Regions from separate parts of the Homo sapiens genome. Here region 2 is linked to region 1. Evidence: promoter capture Hi-C in 16 types of primary human blood cells and fetal thymus (Javierre and others, 2016). All regions are on one chromosome and are shown on one strand. The core of a region is centred on a gene start or on the middle of the fragment in contact, and the rest is flanking DNA. Distances in the headings are between cores, read along the strand shown. Region 1 holds the start of CEACAM3 (CEA cell adhesion molecule 3). Region 2 holds the start of TTC9B (tetratricopeptide repeat domain 9B).

What was found. The method cuts DNA at HindIII sites, captures the fragments that hold promoters and counts their contacts. A CHiCAGO score of 5 or more calls a contact.
Region 2: a contact is called between the fragment with the promoter of TTC9B here and the fragment with the promoter of CEACAM3 in region 1, in 1 of 17 cell types (total B cells). The highest score is 5.8, in total B cells.

Annotation. Positions count from the first base shown.
Region 1 is chr19:41,793,245-41,799,154 of GRCh38, reverse strand. CEACAM3 (CEA cell adhesion molecule 3) reads right to left here and starts at 2,568. Exons shown (of 7, transcript NM_001815.5): 1 at 2,414-2,568; 2 at 1,207-1,566. The coding sequence starts at 2,477. The HindIII fragment of the contact is 3,675 bases long and covers 1-3,439 here.
Region 2 is chr19:40,216,089-40,222,682 of GRCh38, reverse strand. It overlaps TTC9B (tetratricopeptide repeat domain 9B), which reads left to right and starts at 4,299. Exons shown (of 3, transcript NM_152479.6): 1 at 4,299-4,728; 2 at 5,314-5,496; 3 at 6,411-6,594. The coding sequence starts at 4,302. The coding sequence ends at 6,520. It overlaps CCNP (cyclin P), which reads left to right. Exons shown (of 5, transcript NM_024877.4): 5 at 1-475. RefSeq lists enhancers at 2,063-3,262, 4,841-5,431. The HindIII fragment of the contact is 9,686 bases long and covers 3,916-6,594 here.

The DNA.
Region 1 (5,910 bases), core at 1,319-3,818:
TGAGATTTGGAGAGGATAAACATCCAAACTATATCAGGAAAAATTGATTAATTTTCCATTTGCCCCTTACTCTCCAGACCAAAATCTCCCCCTCTGAGATGTGGATGCCCAAGAAAAAGGAAAGAGAACTTAGGACTGGTCTCAGGCCTGCAGATGTCTAATAATAACGCCAGCCGTCCCCTGGTGGAGAAGAGGCAGCTGTGGCTGCAGAGAGACCTCGTGTGACTCTAATCTGACACCTTTGACTTGTGTGACCCTAGTCGGTGACTGTCTCCCTGTTCCTCAATTTTTTTTTTCAATAAGTAGGATAAGTGCTATTTGGCTGTGACGTTGTTTGTGAATTAATCTCAAAATATTTACAATTACTTGACCTCAGCTGTGTATAGAGGAGCTGCCCAAAGGAACAGCATCTATGCTTATTTGCCTCCAAAAGAGAGGTCCCTGAGTCTGATCCCTTGTGGAAAAGGAGCTGCTGGGAGCATCTTCTCTCTTCTTTTTCCTCCCCCTGGGGATACTGAACTTCCCATGGAGTCATCTAAGTTCCCCTGGGCAGTGGGCTCATGCCCTAGTAATCTTGTCCATCTGTTCACTCCATGCTGAGTCTCAGGTAAAGGATGAGGCCCTGTCCTTGCCCAGGAGAGGTTCTTGGGGCTGGACCCTGGCTGGTGACCAACTCCAGGAGCCACGACCCTCAGACAGCTGGTAAATTCTTGCTCCCAGTCAGCCCTGCCCAGGAGGCCTCACTCAGCCCTGGCACAGGATCCCTAGGGTCCCCAGGGTCACCTGGAGTCAGGAATCTGGGACAGGGATTTGCACAGGGGCTCAGTTCTGGGAAGAGTTGAGCTTCTCTCTGAGAATCCTAGGGGGACCCCTCAGGCCAGGCCCTGATCCAGTTCTCCAGGGTCTTTCTTAGGGTCAGGTCCATGGGGAGACCATGGGGTTCTTTTCTGACACTGACCTTGCCCTGCTGAGTCCCCCCATCAGACTGTCCTTCCTCTGCAGCGAGTGTCTGCAGGGTCTGGATGCAGGAAAGGAATTCTGATCTGTGGAAGTTTGTCTCCCCCGTGTGTGTCCTGCACTAAATGTCCAAACCCTGATACAGAATGTAATGCAGAGAGGGCCACAGGCACAGCCCAGGCCTGACAATCCCATATGTGGGAAGTAGAACTGACCCCCAACACCCAGAGGTCATGTGGAAATACTCACGGTATACATGGAACTGTCCAGTTGCTTCTTCATTCACAAGATCTGACTTTATGACTTGTAGGGTGTAGAATCCTATGTCATTCTGGGTGACATTCTGGATCAGCAGGGATGCATTGGTGTATATTGTCTCTCGACCGCTGTATGCGGCCCCTGGGGTAGCTTGTTGAGTTCCTATTACATATCCTACAATTAGACTGTTGCCATCCACTCTTTCCCCTTTGTACCAGCTGTAGCCAAAAAGATGCTGGGGCAGATTGTGGACAAGTAGAAGCACCTCCTTCCCCTCTGCGACACTGAGCGGCATGGATTCAATAGTGAGCTTGGCAGTGGTGGGCGGGTTCCAGAAGTTTAGAAGTGAGGCTAGGAGGGAGAAAGCATCAGTCAATATTGGGACCCATGTATTGGGATGGAAAGATGGGGCCCTGGGTCCTGAGAGAGTCTCTTCACCCTTCAGCCTTGGAGAGTGTATGTGTGTCCCACTTGGTCAAGGTCAGTAACGTGACCTTTCTTTCTTCAGCACCTCTAACCTTGGCATTTTCCTGTGTGGAATCCCCTTCCCCAGGGGTCTGCATGGCTCCCTCCCCACTGCCCTCAGATCCTGCTCACATCAGGGCATCCTTGGGAGATCCCTCCCCTGACACCTCCTCTAGAGACCCTGGGTCTTCCCTTTCTGACCTTTTTCTGCTCTGTTCCCTCCAGGGCTCTTGTCAACACCTGAACTCACATTCTAGATCTCTTTGGGTGTCTATCTTCATCTCTGCAAGAGTGTAAGCTCTTTGAACACAGAGACTTGTCTGATATTTGTTGTACGCCAGTGCCTAAAATTTGATTGCAAATACTGGTGGATGAGTTAAGGAGTGGTGGTTATTTTGCAACTTGTGGTTGGTGGTCAAAGACAGGTTTTAGTGCCCTGGTTATATTTTTATTTAAAGTATCACCCTGATGTAATTCTTATTCTTATCATTTTCTAATTGTAGTGGCCAGTAATGATTAACTTGGAAAACATGATCAATGGATTTTCCTCCCTCTTATCAATCCCAGTTCAATGTGATTGTCTTGTTGTGACCCGTGTCCCTCTCTGATGTTCTCTCCCCTGAGGCTTCAGCAGAAGCCTTCTGTCCCCTATCAGAGCCCCATCCTCCCCAGGAGACCCCAGCCATTCTCTGTGATCCCTCCTCTTGCCCACTCCCAGGAATCCTCCACTCACCTGTGAGCAGAAGCCCCTGCCAGGGGATGCATTCTCTGTGGGGAGAGGCTGAGGGGGGCCCCATGGTCTCTGCTGCCTGCTCTTTCCTCCTCTGTGGAAAAGAGCCTGGGCTCCAGGAATGCTGTAGTCAGGGCTACTGTGACTTAGGCTCTGCTGTCCTTCCTCTTTCCATGCTGAGCCTCCTCCCAGGGCAGGAGCACTTTCCAGGGTCATGGGTGAAGCTCTGCCCAGGTCACCTCTCTGTCCCCTCCCCTCTCAGTTTTGCCTCATTTTCTCTTCTTCCTTTCTCCCTTCTGTCTACATTTGAGTTCCCCAGACCAGGCTCTGAGAAGCAAGGCTTACTTGGATCCCTGTTTCATAACAGGATGACCCTCCCTCCCCAGCGTGGACCTCTGCTCTGCCTTGGCCTTGGGTCTGTCAGCACCATGCAGAGTCCCTGGGGTCCCTGAACCTGGTGTTATTTTCTCTGTGACGGAGAAACTCCTTTGTGTGTGCAGGGTCTTCTTACTGTTCTCACATGTCTGGGAAGGTTGGATTTACTCCCAGCAAGGAGGTCACAGAGATGTCTGGGGTCCTACAAATGGATATATCTAGGGCTAAAGCCCGGATCTAAGATTCTGAGCTGTTCTTTCTGCAGCATTATGTGACTCTAATTTCCTGGGAGTAACTGAGAATGAGGCTTCACAGTGCTGTAGCTTTATGTCATCCAGACACCAGACATTTCTAGGCTGACTTTATGATTTTCTCTCTAGCTTGTACCACCTTTATTATTATATATTTCATCCTTTTTTCTAAATAAATTTAGTTTACAAAACATCCTGTCCTAGCAGGGATCGGTGGCTCAGATCTGTGATCCCAGCTACTCGAGAGGCTATGGTGGGAGGATGGCTTGAGGCCAGGAGTTGGAGACAAAACATCCTTGTCTTATGCAATATTGTCCATGAAATTACAGATTTGATGTGTGCTTAAATGTTTTCTCAATGTATATTAAAATAAACGCATAAGTATTAAAGTTTTTAAAAAGCTTACTTACGTTTCGCCTAAAATCAGTTTTTGGAAATGCTGACACAGTGGCATAAACATGAACTTTATGTCCAGATGTACCTGGGGACAGCTAATGGTTCTGTCACTTAACTATGTTGACTTGGACAAGTCACGTGGCTTCTATGATCCTTGATTCCCTGATTTGTAAAAGGAGGATGGTAAAATCCTCCTTGCAGAGTTGTTGGGAATAAGTGAGCTGCTGTGGGAGCCCCGTGCCCAGGCGGGTGTTGAGTACATGGTGGTTGTCATCGTGGTTATTGCTGTGGAATTCTGGTTTTCAAAGAGTGTCTACGCCGGAATATTGGGCTTGTGGCTTTCTGCTGATGTGGATGTGTGAAAAAGCTACTTTTGCTTGTTAGAACTTGTGGTGCATCTGTCATTATTTTCATTTCCCAGTTCCACTACCTATTTTCTCTGTGATGTTGGTCAAGTTGCCTAACTTTTCTGTGCCTCATTTACCTAATTTGTGAAATGTGGGTAACAGTACACTAGTGTGGGTGTGTTATTTCCCAGCTCTGACCACTAGAGGGCATAGAAGCACCGGCACCTACTAGCAATGGGCATATGGGCGCCCATGGTCTGTAAACATCATTCTCCCATGAAAGGAACCAGGGTTCCCTGGAGAAATGGCTGATTCCAGGGCTGGGGCAGGAAACCACAAGAGGAGACTGGAGCATCTTGCGGGGCCTGAGAGTAAGGCACAACTTGAAAAATGATGGGGATGTGTGGAAAGTATCACAAATGCCAACTAGAAGAAGCTCCCAATGGCCAATTTGGGGACAATATAGCAACATAATCAATAATAATAGTAATGTAGTCCAACCGATAAATACTTGAGAGTCCATGCTGATATATATATAAATAAGTGAATACATAAATAAATGAGAAAGAAGAACTAGCTCTTTCTTACAGCAGCGTTCCAGTTAATCAGTGTAGAAGCAATGATGGAAGCAGAAAATCACTGGCTAACACCACAGTAAGAATTGTTTATCGGCTACAATTATCTCTGGATTCTAGAAATTAATTGGTAAAAGTATGCTAAGAACAAACTGGCTATTTGCATATTTCCAAAGTACCTGTCCACAAGATACTTATTAATTACAATGAGATGAATAGTAACTTCACAGTAGAGAAACCTGGCAGACACCACCTGAACCAAGCGCTTAAAGTGAACCTCATCGGTAATGAGAGATATAGACATCCTGGGGCTCCGGCTGGGATGTCCTGAGAAAGACACATCGCTTCTGTGCTAATCTTGCCCAAAATGCATAACCTGAAACATCCCAAGGAAACATGAGACAAACCCAAATTGAGGGGCATTCTACAAAACAACTGACCAGACCTCCTCAAAAGCATCAAGGTCCTGAGAGAGGGAAAGAGTGGGAAACTCCCCCAGGTTGGAGGAGGCCTAGGAAATGTGACAGTGTTATTCAGTGTGGGATCCTGGGTTGGACTCTGGAGCAGAAAAAAGACATGACTGGGATGATTAGCAAAATTTTAATATTTCTTTTTTTTTTTTTTGGAGACAGAGTCTCACTCTGTCGCCAAGGCTGGAGTGCAGTGGCTCGATCTGGGCTCACTGCAACCCCCACCTCCTGAGTTCAAGAGATTCTCCTGCTTCAGCCTCCCGAGTAGCTGGGATTACAGGTACCTGCCACCACGCCTGGCTAATTTTTGTATTTTTAGTAGAGACGGGGTTTCATCGTGTTAGCCAGGATGGTCTCGATCTCCTCACCTCGTGATCTACCCTCCTTGGCCTCCCAAAGTACTGGGATTAAAGGCGTGAGCCACCGTGCCCGGCCCCATATTTCTATATTTTAAAATTTTTTGTATCAATGCTAGGTGACTGATTTTGATAATTGCTTTAGAGTTAAGGTTATTTGAAAAAGCTGGATGAAGGATATACTGGAACTCTGACTATTTTTACAATATTTTTGAAAGTCTGAAAAATGAAAAGTAAAAAAATGTAAAATGCATAAGATTTCTGTGAGGATAAAATGAGATAAATGTGAAGTGCTTAGAACAATGCCTGAGACACAGGAGTTCTTAAAACATGTCAGCTATTATTATAAGTAATTTTATGATTAACAAGTAATATTATAAGTAATGAGTCATCTATTATAAATCATATAAAATATGATTTCTTTCATAATATCCTCATATATTCTCATCCATTTCTTTTTTCCCTCTCCCCTGTGAAAAGCATATTGAGCATGTATGTCATGAAAAGATAAAATAAGATTCGATTTTATTTTGAGAATTATTTTGGGGGATGAGGAGGAGTGTCATTTCCTCCAGCTACGAAGTAGCTCAGACTCAGGCCCACATTGCAAAGTTTGCTTGGCTGGGAAACAAAGCTGGAGCCTGGCGGCCACCCACCGACGTGGTTTATGATGGCGCCTCCTGGCGGCGCAGAGAACTTTCCGCAGTTCCTCACCCTCGTGCTTTAGGAG
Region 2 (6,594 bases), core at 3,050-5,549, 1.6 Mb after region 1:
CCTGTAGGAAGAATAGGGTGTCCACCTCTCCCCGGTGCTCGCCTAGTCACTCCAGTTGAAGACGGGACGCGTGCCCGATCTCAAGAGAGCCCCCGACCCGTCCGTGGGGAACCACATCGACGCTTCTTCTCAGCCTCCAGTCTCCAGTTCCAAGGATGGGTCATCTCCAACCACTTGCCCTGCCTCAGTTTCTCCATCTCCCTGCTGCAGCCCCGAGGAACTGGGCACCCTCGAGCCGTGCATGGCCCGCGCTGCGCTCCGAGGTCCCGCGCCGGGTCGCGCCGCAGTCTTCCTCAAGTATGCGCGGCCCCAGCGCCAGGGGACCAGCCTTGCCGCCGCCTGCCTGCTCCGCCGCCTCCAGTCTGAGCCTCCCTGAGTACTGGGACTCAGTCACAAAAAAATCAACAACAAAAAACAAAACCCTCCCAGTGTGTGTCCGTCTCTCATCTCAATAAAAGAATTTATTTTATTCTGAGCGCTCTCTGCCCTCATTGGTCGAATTCCGGTCCCCTCTCGCTTTTGATTGGTCGCTTTCTAGGCCTCGCATCCCTCTGATTGGATGTGCTCACCACTTCCTTTAATGGTTGCTGGGAGATAAAATGCAAATTCTGAACTCCTCCACCAGGGGGCAATGGCGGGCTTCCCCAAGAGTCATTCAGCGGGATAAAACTGGGATCCCTTAAGGACTGGCAAAAAATCACAAGAGATGGGGACTGTGGGGGAGTTGAGAATGCCCATCCCGGTCAGAAGAAATGCTACCTCGATGTTGCCGGATTTTCAGATCTTATTCAAGTAAACCTGAGATTCTGCAATTCCATATCTGCGTTTAGATGTCAACTAATTCAGTCTTTCTGTTTTTGTTGTTGTTTTAGACGGAGTTTCGTTCTTGTTGCCCAGGCTGCTGGAGTGCAATGGCGCGGTCTCGGCTCACTGCAAACTCCGCCTCCCGGGTTCAAATGATTCTCTTGCCTCAGCTTCCCAAATAGCTGGGATTACAGGCTCCTGCCACCACGCCCGGCTAATTTTTGTATTTTTAGTAGAGACATGTTTCACCATGTTGGCCAGGCTGGTCTCGAACTCCTAACCTCAGGTGATCCTCCCGCCTCGGCCTCCCAAAGTGCTGGGATTACAGGCTTGAGCCACCGTACCCGGCCTAATTCAATATTTCTTAATGGTTGTACAAGCCCAACACATCACATATACTGGGCTATGAAGATAGGTTCTCCCAAGCCTGGAAGATGCTCTGCGAAGGTCATCAGTTTGTAGTAGTAAGTCCTGGATAGTAAGAGTTTTATCAATGGGGTCTGATATACTTAACCTGGGAAGTGCCCAGGTGTCAGTGGGGATAATTATGGTACCAACCTCCTGACACTGTGGTGAGGATGTGAGTTAAAATATACGTAAAGCAGCCAGGTGCGATGGCTCAAGTCTATAATCCCAGCACTCTGGGAGACCGAGGCGGGCGGATCACGAGGTCAGGAGTTTGGGACCGGCCTGGTCAACATAGTGAAACCCCGTCTCTACTAAAAATGCAACAAATTAGCTGGGTGTGGTGGCGGGCTTCTATAATCCGAGCTACTCAGGAGGCTGATGCAAGAAAATCGCTTGAACCCGGAAGGTGGATGTTGCCGTGAGCCGAGGTCACGTCATTGCACTCCAGCCCCGGCGACAGTGCAAGACTCCATCTCAAAATAAATAATAAAAAATAAATAAAAGGGAAAGCTCTTTATGACAATGTCTGACACCTAGGAGGTGTTGTAAAAGTGTTAGCATTGCATCCCAGCAGGACTGTGATTTTAGGTACAGTTGTCCTGTGCTACTGTGCCTGGGTACCTAGGCATTTACTTCGTCAGAAAACATGGTTATGAATCAACGGATCTCCTTTTTTTTTTATTTTTTTTTTTGAGACAGGGTCTCACTCTGTCATCATTCAGGTTGGAGTGCAGTGGTGTGATCTCAGCTCACTGCAACTTCCACCTCTTGGGTTCAAGCAATCCTCCCGCCTCAGCCTTCCAAGTGGTGCACGCCACCACCCCTGGCTAATTTTTTGTATTTTTGGTAGAGACAAGGTTTTGCCATGTTGCCCAGGCTGGTCTCGAACTCCTGAATTCAGGTGATCCACTTGCCCCGGCCTTCCAAAGTCCTGGGATTACAGGTGTGAGTCACTGCGCCCAGCCAGATCTCTGTGTTTTTCATTACAAAACAGACACACCGGAGGTAGGGAAAGGTGTGTGCACTGCTCAAGAACTCAAATTCATGAGTTTTACACTCCTAACTGAGCCTGGGTTTGGAGATGCAGAGAGGAAAATGTTTGCACCCCTGAGGTGTTCAAGGCTGGACCCCAGGGATAAGGGAGAAACTCACTCAGCAAAAGCGTTTTACAGCAAAGTACAATAAGAGATAGAGGCAGATGCTCTGGTTGAGATGGAAGGTGCTGAGTTCTGGTTTCTGTCTGTCACATGTGACCTGCCATGGGACCTCCAGCTAGAGGATGTGCTGTGGGGGTGGAGTTGGGGAGAGTGGGGAGGCCTGGGGCTGAGACCCAAGCTAGAGTCTCAGAGGAGGGGGAGGAGTAGTAATGCATAATGCCATTCACTCACACACTCATTCATTCAACAACTATATATGGATGCTGACTCAGAGCCAGGCACTCATGATCACATGACTCAGAGTCTAATGGACGATAAGAAACACCAGTTGTTAATTGCCCATTAATGTATGAAGCCCTGTGCTAAGTGCCTTACCTGCATAAGATAATTCAGTCTCTGCAACCGCTCTGAGGTTAACTTGCCTTCTATCCTCATGTCGCACAGACGAAGCCGAAGGAGGAGGATCGAGGAACTTGGCCCAGGTCCCACAGCTAAGGAGGCGGCAAAGGAGGACTGAAGGGCAGTTGACTCATTCATCCTCGATTTTTTTCTTGAAAGCCTCCTGCATGCTTCCTTTCCTGGGGACTTGTTTGCCCTCTCACTTGTTTTCCCCCATAGACAGCCGAGCTGGATGAGGGCAAGAAGGAGATCTCTCTTGTTTTTAGAGTTATTCCCTCCTCCAGGAAGACTTTATCACCACCTCAGCCCAGGGCAGGTACCTCCCACATCCCAGCCCCGACCCCTCTGCCTGTGCCTCTTCCACCTCGGCCCCGACCCCTCTGCCTGTGCTTCCCAGGCTAGCCTGCTCAGGGCTGTCACTGTCTGGTCACTGGTCTGTCTTCCCACTGAACTGGGGCCCAGTGAGAGTAGGGTCTGAAGCTCACGCAGTGTCTGCTATGTCCCAGCATCATCCAGCACAGAGCTGGGCACAGAAAGGATGTCAGTGAATATTTGTTTCATAAATTAACAGATGAATCCCAAAGGTGGTATTATTTTTAATTCCTTTCCTTTCCTTTTTTCTCTTTCCTCTTTCCCCTTTCCCCTTTCCTTTCCTTTCCTTTCCTTTCCTTTCCTTTCCTTTCCTTTCCTTTCCTTTCCTTTCCTTTCCTTTTTTGAGACGGCATCTCCCTCTGTCACCCAGGCTGGAGTGCAGTGGCACAATCTCGGCTCACTGCAACCTCTGCCTCCCAGGTTCAAGTGATTCTCCTGCCTCAGTCTCCCGAGTAGCTGGGACTACAGGTGCACGCCACCACACCAGGCTAATTTTTGTGTATATATACAAAAATTTTGTATATATTGTATATTAGTAGAGACGGAGTTTTGCCATATTGGCCAGGCTGGTCTCAAACTTCTGACCTCAAGCGATCCATCCACCTCGACCTCCCAAAGTGCTGGGATTACAGGCGTGAGCCACCTCGACTGGCCCTAAAGGTGATATTATTGTGCCATGTTACTGATGAGGATACAGAGTTCCAGGTAGTTTAAGCGAGCTGTCTAAGTCATACCACTAGTGAGAAAGTAAGCAGGGATTTGAATTTGGGAAGCTTGGGTCCAAATCCTGTGTTCTCATTCGATATGCCAAATGGCCAGTGGGCTGAGAGCCAGCTTTCCGTGAGGCTGATGTCTTCCTGCTCTTTCCCCCAGGCTCGTCCTTTCCTTCTAGAAATCTTCGGGAGCTTTGGGCACCGGGGAGGAGAGCAGGCAGGAGGTTGGGGAGGGTAAGGGGAATGGGAACAATTCGGGGGGCGGGCTGGAGAACTAGGACTTGGTTAATTTGAGAGTGAGCATGGGGGAAGTCTCGAGGGGTTTCCCTAGACCCATAGGGGGCAGCCGGAGTCGGCTGCCGGAGGTGAGGGGGCGGAGAAAGGGTGGGGACCAGCCCCGCGGGGGGCGATGCGGTAGCTGCAGCGGCGGCGGCAGGAGTTTCCCACAATGCAGCGCGGCGCGCTGTCCCCGGTGCTGATGCTCAGCGCTGCCCCGGAGCCTCCGCCGCGCCCGCCTCCCGCCCTCTCCCCACCGGGCTCGGGCCCAGGCTCGGGCTCCCGCCATGGCTCGGCTCGTCCCGGTCCTACCCCAGAGCCGTCGGGGAGCCTGGGCGCGGCGCTCGACAGCAGCCTGCGTGCCGCCGTGGCGTTCAAGGCAGAGGGCCAGCGCTGCTATCGAGAGAAGAAGTTCCGGGAGGCCATCGGCAAGTACCACCGAGCGCTGCTGCAGCTGAAGGCGGCGCAGGGGGCCCGCCCTAGCGGCCTGCCCGCCCCCGCCCCCGGGCCCACCAGCAGCCCCGGGCCGGCGCGCCTCAGCGAGGAGCAGCGGCGCCTGGTGGAGAGCACGGAGGTGGAGTGTTACGACTCCCTCACGGGTACGCCGTCGGGGGGTGGGGGGATGGGGCACGAGGGGAGGGGGCAATCGGGAGAGCTTGGCGACTTGGGGGCCAGGGGCCCTGGGGCTGAAGGGTCCAGGGCTGTGGGCTTCTGGGGGAGCCTTCAGAGCTTGATCAAGGAAAGGGATTAGGGGTAGGGGATGACAGGGGTCTGTGGCTGGAGGGAGCTGGGATGCAGGAAATGGTCTTTGGGTCGGGTATTCAGGGCCTCGCTTCCCCTGAGTCATTCTTTCCACCCCCTGGCCGCACGTGGACCCAAGGTGAGGAAGTCTGCCCTGAGCCAGGCTCTCGAGGTCCCGGCCCTCGCCCCCGCGCGGGGCCTTAGTGCTCTTGCCCACCGACAGCTCTGGGTGGATCGCCCAGTGGCGCCTGTCCGTGTTTTGGCGCCCCCTAGCAGCGGCGCAGTTGCGCCTGTTTCGATAGGCGAGCGGATTGGCGCCCCTGGTTGCCGGAGCAATCCCTTAGGCCTGGTTCCCTGCCGCCTGGAGCCTCGGCTCCTCGCAGTCAGGTGGGTTCTGGGGGTGCCAGCAGGCTCTGAGAGTGCCGGCCGCGGGGCCCTCGCAGCTTGCCTGCTGCAGTCGGAGCTGGTAAACTACGAGCGCGTGCGCGAGTACTGTCTCAAGGTACTGGAGAAGCAGCAGGGCAACTTCAAGGCCACCTACCGTGCCGGCATTGCCTTCTACCACCTGGGCGACTACGCACGCGCGCTGCGCTACCTGCAGGAGGCCCGCAGCCGGGAACCCACAGGTGAGTGGCGGGGCGGGGCAGAGGTGAGGGCTGGGCCCAGGGCGGGGAAAGGGGCTGCAGCGGAGGGAACAGGCAGGAAGATCAGGGCAGAATAGCAGAGCCCTCCTCCCGCGGAGCTGCTTCTAGGTAGGGCTGCGCCACCCACCTACTCCCTACACGCCCACTCATCCATTCATCCACCCCGCCCTTCACCCGCCATTCAAACATCCGTCCACCTATCGCTCCTCTGACATCTCCCCGGCCATTTCTCATCTACCGTCATTGCCACATCTGATATCTCCTATTCACCTGCTCAGTCACTTCCCTATCCACCCACTGTCATCTCCATTACCCCGTCCCACCCCTGCCTACCGCACACACTCATTCCTCCACTCACCCATTCACGCACACCTATTCATTCACTTCCTGCACCATCCACTCATCCACTCGGGTGGACGATGCCAGGAAATTGGGGTGTGTGTGTGTGTGCGTGCATGTGTGCACTTACACACATGAGTGCAGGAGGGCAGACACAACACTCAGTTTTGTATTAAGAGCCAATGAAGAAGGAAGAGGGATTACAACAGGTGCAGGGTTGTGGGAGCCGAGACGAGATTAGTTTTCCTGTTAAGTGGCTCGGAGAGAACAGACTTCTTGCAGATGTCGCTGGAGGATGAGAAGTGTGACGGGAGCCTCTGCGAAGAGGCATTCCTGGCAGAGGGTGCCGCAAATACAGGCGCACAGAGGTGTGCGATGGCTCCGCTGTGACTGGGGACTGCCGACTGTGACTGGGGCTTTGGGGAAGGGCTCTGGCTCTACTGGCTGTGTGAGCGAGCTGCTGGATACTTCGGAGAATGGGGTGTGAGCCAGGGAGGTGTGGAAGTCACCTGCTGCCCCGGGACACCCAGATGATGCCCTGCCCACCTCCCCTGCAGACACCAATGTGCTCCGCTACATCCAGCTGACTCAGCTGAAGATGAATCGTTGCAGCCTCCAGCGGGAAGACAGTGGGGCTGGGTCCCAGACTCGGGATGTAATTGGCTGAGGCCAATCCAGGGGGACCTCTCTATCCCTCGCCCTCCCACCTCACCATGTAACTTCCCCCGACTCATGTGTTTG